Linked DNA regions of Homo sapiens: all the other regions are linked to region 1. The links are contacts of gene promoters, found by promoter capture Hi-C in human tissues and cell types (Jung and others, 2019). All regions are on one chromosome and are shown on one strand. Each heading gives the region's core, a stretch centred on a gene start or on the middle of the fragment in contact. The rest is flanking DNA. Distances are from core to core; before and after follow the strand shown. Region 1 holds the start of A4GALT (alpha 1,4-galactosyltransferase (P1PK blood group)). Region 2 overlaps PACSIN2 (protein kinase C and casein kinase substrate in neurons 2). Region 3 overlaps PACSIN2 (protein kinase C and casein kinase substrate in neurons 2).

Region 1 (3,185 bases), core at 413-2,912:
AGTGGGCCAGGTGCCGTGGCTCACATCTGTAATCACCACACTGTGGGAGGCTGAGGCGGGTGAATCACTTGAGGTCAGGAGTTCAAGACCAGCCTGGCCAACATGGTGAAACCCTGTCTCTACTAAAAATACAAAAATTAGCCATGGTTGTGCATGCCTGTAGTCCCAGCTACTCAGGAGGCTGAGGCAGGAGAATCACTTGAAACCAGGAGACAGAGGTTTCAGTGAGCCGAGATGGTGTCACTGCACTCCAGCCTAGGTAACAGAGTGAGTCTCTTCTCAAAAAAAAAAAAAAAAAAAAAAAAAAATGAGTATTACCAGTGGAGAAAGGGTCCGCATTCATTCTTTTTTTTTTTTTTTTTTTTTTTTTTTTTGAGACAGAGTCTGGCTCTTGTCACCCAGGCTGGAGTGCAGTGGCATGATCTAGGCTCACTGCAACCTCCACCTCCTGGGTTCAAGTGAGCATGTCCAGCTAATTTTTGTATTTTGTAGAGATGGAGTTTCACCATGTTGGCCAGGCTGGTCTTGAACTTCTGATCTCAGGTGACCTGCTTGCTTTGGCCTCCCAAAGTGCTGGGATTACAGGCGTGAGTGCTTGCCTGGCCTCTTGTTTCCGTTTTAAGATGGGAGAAGTAACAGCCTGTGATGGGAATGACCCAGGGAGAATGGAGAGAGGGCAGGGTTTCGGGATCAGTGTTGGCGTGAAGGGTCGGGATCTTCTGGAGGGGGTGGTCGTGGCCAGGAGCTGGACGGGTTCAGCCCGGTCCCAAGAGGGAAGGGACTGGGTGCTACCTCAGCGGGTGGGTGGGGGAGCTGGTGGGAATTTTCTACTGATTCCTTCATTCGAAGTGTATTTATTGGGCACCCATTGAGTGCCAGGCTCTTTCTCAGGGCTAGGATAGAGGTTCCATTTTCTCAGTGGCTTGGGCACTGGGTCATCAGCTGAGTGAGAGGATGGGCGTCAGCACTCAAGAAGTCACCCAATGGTTTCATTTTTTGCAGTCTTTGTTGTCCCAGAGGAGTAAGAACTAAAAGCACCAGGACTGTGACATGCTGGAAACATGGCATGTTCCAAAGAGAATAAAATACAGTTTTATGATACACGAATTGTGTGTGATACATTCCAATTTCTCACATTGAACAAATTACCAATAGCAATATGTGTGAAGATGGGGCGAGGTGAGAGTGAGGAGGAGGAGTAGAGAAAGGACGGGGCGGCGTTAAGGATACAGCAAATAACTGGAATTCCGCAAACACTGGGGTGATGCAGGCAATGCCCTTAGCACGGTCCCGGCAGGAGGCGGTGGGATCAGGCCGACCCGGGTCCCAGGGGTGACAGCGTCCCTTCTCCACTGCAGAATATCGAGGTACTCAACCCTCTGAACCTCAGTTTTCTCATCAGTTCAATGGGGAAAACGGGATGGTAACCCGTAATACTGGCGGCGCGGAGGCCGGGGAGCGCTCCCTACCTGTTGGCCGGCGGACTGGGGACTGTCCGCACCCGCCCCGGGGAGCAGCGAGGGCGCGCGGGCGGGGTCGCGGGGACCCCGCAAGGGCTCTGGGGACCGGGACCCGCAGGGTAGGTCGGGACGGGCGGGGCGGGGCGGCCTGACCCCGCCCCGGGCCGGAGGGGCGGTGCTGCCTCCCGCCGGGCCCCAGGCACTGCCCTCCGGCCGCCGCGCCGCCCGCCCGCCGGGGCCCCGCTGTCCGCCGCCCGCCGCCGCTGGAGCTAGAGGTACGAGGGGCCGCGCCGATGTTGCGGGGGACGGGGGCTCCAGGGGGATCCTGCGGCTCGCAGTGGGGAGGAGGCGCCTCGGGAAGGCAGGGGCAGGGGCGGAGGGGCTGGGCCGCCGCCCTAGCCCGGGCCACCTGTTCTGGAGGCGACATTTGTGCGCGCACGAACCCCGCGCGGCGGTCCCGGCCACCGCCTCCACCCCAACTGCGCCCCGAAGTGGAGCGCGGCGGCGGGACCCGGAGCCCCGGCCCTCGCGGGCAGGACGCGCCTGGCTCCGGAGCCCTCGAGGGCAGCCCCACCCGGTTGGGTCCCGGGGCTGGAGAGAGGGCGTCGGGGAGAAGCCGGGTTCGAGGCAGGCTCTGCCCGGCCACCGTGGGTGAGTCGCGCTCCTCCGTCCGGGGGAAGCCTGGGCGTCGGGCGGTGCTCGCCCCGGAGCGGATGCGACCGGGGACGGGGATGGAGAGCGGCCGGCAGGAGGGGGCTCTGCCGGGCTGGCAGCGTCGGCGCCGGCCTTAGGGAGGGTGAGGATTTGGACCTGCCCAGAAGCGGGAAGGGCCCTCCCCGTGCGGGAAACGGCCTGGGTACGAGCTGGGCACGGGGCGAGCCGGTTGGAGTCGCCCGGCCTCCGCGCTCGCCTCGGATCCGCAGGCGCCCCTCCCTCCTCTCCAGCTGGGGAAGGTTGAGGACTGAGCGGGAGCGGAACTGGGCTTGGGAGAGGATCTGCCGGGGCACCTGGTCCCAGCGCCCATCCCGTTTCACTGCCAGGGCGAGTCCCCTTCCCTCAGTTTCATCACCTGTCATCCGGAGGGACAAGTTCCCACCTGGATAGTCTCGGCTGAGCCTCTGGCCCTGAGTGGGTTAAAGCGCCATTTCCCCTGCACCCACCTTTCCCTCACGACACCCTCTCTGCGGCTTCCTCCCCTCCGCCAACGTCGAGTGATTGTTCCGCGAAGGCCCCTTGGGGTCACGTACCCTGCACTCAGCAAATAACCCCGAGCACCTGGTGGGTCTCAGGCCAGGTCTGGCCTTCCCGTTCCCGCCACCAGCTGCCCAAAGACTTCCCCTTTGTCACCTCCTCCCAAAGAATGAGGGAGCCACCCTGCCCAGGGTCCCATAGCAGAGTGCGGATGGAGCCAGGCCTCCCTCAAGATTTCCCACAGCCCTCTTCCAGCCTCAAACCTTCTCCAGGACCCGAAACCCTGCTACACTGTGTTTCCATAGCTGCAACCCCCCAAAAGAGGGTCCCCAAATCAAAGGAATACAAAGGAAAACAAAATAGAAAGGAAAAGAAAGGAAGAGGAGAGATGGAATCCTCTCTGTCATTAGTTTTCTGTTTGTTTGTTTTTTAGGGTCTCCCTCTGTCACCCAGGCTGGAATGCTGTGGCAGCTCACTGTAGTCTCAAACTGCTAGGCTCAAGCGATCCTCCCACCCCAGCTTCCCTAGTGGCTG
Region 2 (3,185 bases), core at 267-2,766, 220 kb before region 1:
CCTGTGTGAAGGGATCCTAAGATTATGTTGGAATAACACTGCATCAGTCCTGGGCAGGCAGCTTTGTGTGTTGTGTAACTGGGGCTTCTTGCTGTGGGGACATGGTGGCAAATCAGTGAGCACTTGTTCTTTTTGTTTTTTGAGACAGAGTTTTGCTCTTTCCCCCAGGCTGGAGTGCAGTGGTGCGATCTCACTGCAACCTCCATCACCTGGGTTCAAGTGATTCTTGTGCCTCAGCCTCCCAAGTAGTGGGTGAGCCCGTGGTACATTGCTGCTCTCGCCAGGCTCAGAGGCCAATGTGTGCCTCCTTCCTGGATGCAGTGGCAGTCAGTGAGTGCTTCCACTCCTGCCCCCAGGGACAAATCCTTTGGCTTTATTAGCTTTGTCCTTACTTCCCCCTTAGACTGTGGCAGGTTTGGGGTACCCATACTTCTGGAGACCCTACCCTGGATTATATTAGGTATGTTATGCTCACATGCAGTTTAAACACTTCTTTATGTTATAAAAGTAATTGGAAGGATTCTTATTATTTTGCTTTTGAAACTATTTGGCTATGAGAAGTTGATTTCTCCTCCACCTCCTCTAATTCATTTGTGCATTTGTTCAGAGGGAACAGTGTGTGTGAAGGGGTGGAGCTGATAGGAGTGTGGTGCTTGTGTTGGTAGACACAGGTGATTAACGGTGGCCAGAGCGTGTATAGTGTGGCCAGGAGTGTGGTGTGAGTGGTGAGGCTGGAGGAGCAGTAGTTACAGCCTGGAGGCCCTGCTGGCTTCGGGAGGAAGTAGGGGGAGGAGTTTGAGTAGAGGCAAAACCTGATCTTTCCAGAAGACATTCCAACCACCATGGTAGAGTCACAGTAATGTCATGGAGAATGAAGGGAGTCGGGGACTAAACAAGTGGCTGCAGGTTAGTTAGGACGTTGTTAAGGATTAGGCAGGAGGCAATGGTGGCCTTAGCGAAGGTAGCTATCATCATGGGGACAGAGCCAAGTGGGAGGATTCAAGAGATATTGAAGAGCTGATGTAGTCCGGTCTTGGAAGCTGATTGAATGTGGTAGTGGTGAGGGGGGTTGGGTGTGGGAAGAAGAGGAGTTTCTGGCTTGAGAAGCTGGGTGAATGAATGGTGGGACCATTTCTGACGTAGAAAACCCAGGAACAGGAGTGGGCTCATAGGGAAGGGGATAGTTTGCAAGGACTGTGTGATGGCCAAGTGGAGGCATCCAGTAGGCAGAGATGCGGGTCTGGGCCAGACAGCAGATCAGGGGGCTTGAGGTTAAAGGTGGTTTGGTGTGTGGGCACAGAAGACGTAAGAGAGAGGGCCTGGGACAGAACCTGGGGAGCGCCAGCAGCCAGGAAACAGGCAGAGGAGGTTGAGAGAAGGCACACTGCAGCCACTACAGAAATGAGCTGGTGAGTGTCAGCTCCCTCCCCAAAGACTCCTCTTGCCCTCGTCCCCCACTGATTTTGCTTCTGTCAGCTTGGTAATTGCCGGTGCGTACATCTAGTCACTGTGCAGACTCATTTGAGCATCTACCTCATGCTAAGCACTGGGGATACGGAGATGACACAGCCCTTGCCTCTTTTTTTTTTTTTTTGAGACGAGTCTTGCCCTGTCGTCCAGGCTAGAGTACAGTGGTATGATCTTGGCTCACCGCAACCTCTGCCTCCCAGGTTCAAGTGATTCTCCTGCCTCAGCCTCCTGAGTAGCTGAAACTACAGGGGCGTACCACCACACCTGGCTAATTTTTGTATTTTTAGTAGACATAGGGTTTCACTGTGTTGGCCCGGCTGGTCTTGAACTCCTGACCTCAGGTGATCCACCCATCTTGGCCTCCCAAAGTGCTGAGATTATAGGCGTGAGCCACCGCGCCCAGCTACAGTCCTCACCTTATAAGTTGATGTGTAGTGGATGCGCTGTGCCACTCTGCCTTTTTTGCTTATACCCAATTTCGGATGGAAAATAGCTCACCTGCTAGTTCTCTGTAACGGATGTGTTGTGTCCTTTCTGTCAACTCGTCATTGTTTTCTTAGCTTTGAGCAGCTGACTCGTTTCCAATTTTTGCTGTTATAAATATTGCAGTGATGAACATTTTGTCCAAGCTATTTTTTCTTTGAGTTTATTTGCTTGGGGCATGTTCCCCAGAGTGGGACTTAAGGGTCAGAGGTTGGTAACTGTTATCTGCCTTGTTCTGTATTTTCAGATTTTTCCATGAAGCCTATTAGCAATGTTAGAGTACATTTCTGTTTTCCTGTAGCCCCACCAAAACTGGCATTGTCATATTAATTTTCCTTATTTTACAAGTTATTTCCATATTTTAAAGGAAGTTGTGCTTTTTTTTCCTGCATGGGAATTTGTTGTATTATATTTAGCTAGGTTACATTGCAGTAACAAGCAAACCCCAAGTCTCAGAGACTTAGCCTAACACAAATGTCTTTCTCGCTTGATCTGTGTGTCCCTTGTAGGATGGCTGGGGGTGCGGTTCCACAGAGTCCCTCAGGCCAGGCTGATTAAGGAGACAGCACTCTCTGAGAGCTGCCACTCGAGGCCTGCTCAGTGGACAACACAGTAGACAGGAGAGGCTGGGGGCTTTGTGTGGACTTTTCACTACTGATGTGGCCAGGACTACCAACACAGTCTGGCTTAGCAGGTAGAACTTAGTGAGCATTCCTGTCTCTGCCCAGCCATCTCCTCTTCTGTTTGTTCCTCTCCAGCAACTTCTTTGTCCAGTGGAATTGGATCCTCTGTCTTCATATCAGCTCTTAATGTATTTTAGGTAATAAGATTTTTATCAATTGTGTCTTTTTCTTTCTTTGCTTTCTATATTGTATTGTGCAAAAGTTTAACGTAAGTTTTGGACACATTCATGTTTTCCTCTGATACCTTATTATCACAAATTTCTTTTCTCAAAGCCAGAGAATAAGCTGCTTTTCTTTGAGTTGCTTAAAATGGATTTTATTTGGCTCCTTATGACACTTGAAATTCATCAAAATATATAATGTCAGGTGGTTTTAATCTAAGTTAATTAGGTCCTTGGTGATGCCTGTTCTGCAACATTAAAACAAAACAAAAGAAAGAAAAAACACCCAACCCCAAGCAACACCTCTTCATGACAGAAACACTCAGCAAACCAGGAACAGAAGGGAACTTGACTGGATAAAGGGTATTAATCAAAACTTCCAGGGCTG
Region 3 (3,185 bases), core at 205-2,704, 160 kb before region 1:
CAGGACTTGGGGCTAGCAGGGTCGGCACAGGCTGAGGGCAGGGGCAGCCCAGAGGTGGAGCATCTTGTTGCCACTGAGTACCCTGAGAGCTCCCGGGAGGCTATTGTGTCTTGAAGGCTCCTGAGATGGGGCTGCTCTGTGTCACTTCAGCAGTATCCTCCAGATGCTGGGCGCTGAACCCACAGCTATGTGTCTTGGGCTTCTGAGCTAGGCTCCCATGCAGGGCTGCCAGGTAGTGGGCACGGGCAGTGTGGATGGCTGTGGGGAATAGGGGAATAGCCACAGCGCTGTGGAGCTCTTTCTCTGCTGGGCATGCCCCAGCCCTGGCAGGGGTGGCCTTTTCCTGGCACAGAGGACCCAAGCCCAGCCATCTTAGGAGGCTGAGAAGCAGAGCAAGGACCCGGATACCAGGAGAGGAGAAAGGGGCAGGAGTCAGGGCCCTAGAGGGCGGGGTGGAACCTGGTCTCACGAGGCTGGGGAAGGCTTCAAGAAGAGGAGTTGCTTTGGAGCCTGAAGCAGAGTCTCCCAGGGCTCTGAGCCACGTGAGTCAGAGGAGAGCATCTGGGAGGGGAGCCGCATGGGCAGGGTAGACTCAGTCCCAGCTGGGGGCAGAGAGGGTGCCCGATAGGCCTGCAGTGTCTCGGGAAGCGCTCCATCCTTCCTCAGAAGGCCCTGCACATGTTGTTAGGGACAGCAAAGCTTAGACCTGAGTGGAGCCCGTGACTACCCCCATAGTAGAAAGAATTGCAATAAATAGGTGGCCCCAGCCCTGCTATCTCTCACCCACCCCAGGGGGACAACACGACCATGATCCCACCAACTAACAAAACCACCTGGCCACCAAACTGGTGGCCCTGCATGCTGAGATGAGGGGGTGCGGGGAAGTGTGTACCAGTGTGAGGTCATTGACCTCGAGGCACATCCCCACCAGATGAATGTGCCCACTTTAGCCATGTCTTAGGAATTTCACACGTTTTCTAGCTGCCCCTGGATATTCTTGAGATAGGCCACACCTGCTTTTTAACATTTCCTGCCTTGTAAAACCCCTTCTTGGGACAATCTGGGAGGGAGCAGCTGTGTGAGGGGGATGGAGTGGGCTGAAAGACAAGAGAAGGAGGACTTTTTTTGAATGCCTTCTTCCTGCACCCCATCATGTACATATCAGAACACTGTGAAGGAGAGATGTCCTCATCTGATAAAGGACAGTGAGGCTCCAAGAGAGCTGCAGGATTCAGCCCCAGCCCCACCTTTGCTGTGGGCCAGATCTGAGGCTTGAGGGTAGCCAGGCACAGCCCTTCCCCACAGGGAGAAGAGGACATGGGCGTGTGGCACGCTCAAGACCATACACACTGAGTTCTGGGGAGACTGCCCTTTGCCGGCATCTACCTGTCTGGGCCTTGCTCCAGCTGAGAGACAGGGCAGATGGCAGGAGTGTGATTCACCTTGCAGGAGTGGAGGAACTGGGACTTGAACTTGAAGTCTGTCAGAATCCAGAGCTCCTGTTTTTTCTTTGCATTTGGAATCTGGGAAGGCCTGAGACACTCCAGGGGCAGGGTGAGCCAAGGGCTAAATGGAAATGAACCTCTGTCTTGTGCCTGGATTTTCCTTTAGACCAAAGAGAAGTATGAGAAGTCCCTGAAGGAACTCGACCAGGGCACACCCCAGTACATGGAGAACATGGAGCAGGTGTTTGAGCAGTGCCAGCAGTTCGAGGAGAAACGCCTTCGCTTCTTCCGGGAGGTTCTGCTGGAGGTTCAGAAGCACCTAGACCTGTCCAATGTGGCTGGGTAAGTTTCCTTTGAGCTAAAACACACACGTCATTGAAGTCAACGGAAAGTGCTTTTGAAGCAAACTCAGATGCTGCTCCCAGGTTTGGGATGGCGCGTTCATCAGGAGGTCTCCTCACCGCCCTCAGGGCCTCCTGCTTCTTTGTAATCTGGATGGCAGGGAGGGCCCCTCTGCTGAGTGTTTCTGCAGCTGCAGGCATGGCCGGCTGGACCTCTGGAAGGCCTGGTTGACCCGGCCAATTGCTGGCCCAAGCAGATAAGGCCGGGCCCACTCTGCCAACTCCATGTACAGGTCTGGGTGGGAATGGAGATTGCCCATTCTGGGGCCACAGCTAGGACCAAGGCAGCTGGCATATCTTTTCTTTTCTTTTTTTTTTTTTGAGACGGAGTCTTGCTTTGTCCCCAGGCTGGAGTGCAGTGGCGTGATCTCAGTTCACTGCAACCTCCTCCACCTTCTGGTTTCAAGCAGTTCTCCTGCCTCAGCCTCCCGAGTAGCTGGGATTACAGGCATGCGCCACCACACCCAGCTAATTTCTGTATTTTTAGTAGAGATGGGGTTTCACCATGTTGTCCAGGATGGTCTCGATCTCTTGACCTTGTGATCCGCCCACCTCGGCCTTCCAAAGTGCTGGGATTACAGGCGTGAGCCACCGCACCTGGCCGCAGCTGGCATATGTAAGATCCACTGGAGGTGAATCTGGCATTTCTGGGCTGGTCGTGCCTGGGACAGTCTTTCTTTGAGGCCCTTTGTGATCAGGTGACTGCTTAGTGGCTCTCAGCCCCCAGGACAGCACATACCCTCTGAGACTTGGTTCTGAATTGTGATATGGAAGCTGTGCTGTTTCTTCTGTGCTTTCCTCATCTTTGGTTCTGTGATGCCTTCACCAGGGCAGAGGTCCCAGCTAAGTCAAGGACGTGGATTACTGTCATCCATCTAGCAGAACCGTGTAGGGATGCGTCACGGGTCAAGGCTTGCTGTTAATAGGAGACACATTCCGTTTGTCTCCCTCTGTGTAACAATCATCAAAAGCAACAGTTACTGCACCGCTGCTGCTCTGCCACCATTCCATTTTTATGATAGTCTTGTAAAGTGGGTGGCACTGACCCCATCTTATTGATGAGGAAGCTGAGGCTGGGTGAGATTAAATGACTTGCCCGAGGCTGCTCTGCTGGCAGGAGCAGGGTGAGGCTGGCCTGTGTCAGGCTCTTCTGCATGTGGAGTGACTCCCATCGTGTGGATGCTTGTCTGTCTCTGTGTCTGGATTTCCCCCTTTTAATACAGGCACCAGTCATATGGATTAGGGCCCCTGCTAGTGACCTCATTTTAGCTTGATTACCTCTATAAAGACCTTATTTCCAAATAAGGCCACATTCCGAGGCACTGGGGTTTGGACTCCA

Evidence for each region. The method cuts DNA at HindIII sites, captures the fragments that hold promoters and counts their contacts. A contact is called where the count stands out against the background at its distance.
Region 2: a fragment that was not itself captured here is called in contact with the fragment with the promoter of A4GALT in region 1 in 1 of the 25 tissues and cell types used here (liver).
Region 3: a fragment that was not itself captured here is called in contact with the fragment with the promoter of A4GALT in region 1 in 3 of the 25 tissues and cell types used here (heart left ventricle, lymphoblastoid cells and mesenchymal stem cells).

Annotation. Positions count from the first base shown.
Region 1 is chr22:42,719,347-42,722,531 of GRCh38, reverse strand. It overlaps A4GALT (alpha 1,4-galactosyltransferase (P1PK blood group)), which reads left to right and starts at 1,662. Exons shown (of 3, transcript NM_017436.7): 1 at 1,662-1,735. RefSeq lists silencers at 1,563-1,752, 1,783-2,012, 2,093-2,222. The HindIII fragment of the contact is 38,593 bases long and covers 1-3,185 here.
Region 2 is chr22:42,943,506-42,946,690 of GRCh38, reverse strand. All of the region lies in intron 1 of PACSIN2 (protein kinase C and casein kinase substrate in neurons 2), which reads left to right. Among named protein-coding and RNA genes, the nearest start is that of PACSIN2, 70 kb to the left of the region's middle. RefSeq lists an enhancer at 1-24 and a silencer at 1,515-1,594. The HindIII fragment of the contact is 4,336 bases long and covers 1-3,185 here.
Region 3 is chr22:42,882,988-42,886,172 of GRCh38, reverse strand. It overlaps PACSIN2 (protein kinase C and casein kinase substrate in neurons 2), which reads left to right. Exons shown (of 11, transcript NM_001184970.3): 6 at 1,612-1,787. Among named protein-coding and RNA genes, the nearest start is that of ARFGAP3, 27 kb to the right of the region's middle. RefSeq lists an enhancer at 3,156-3,185. The HindIII fragment of the contact is 5,085 bases long and covers 1-3,185 here.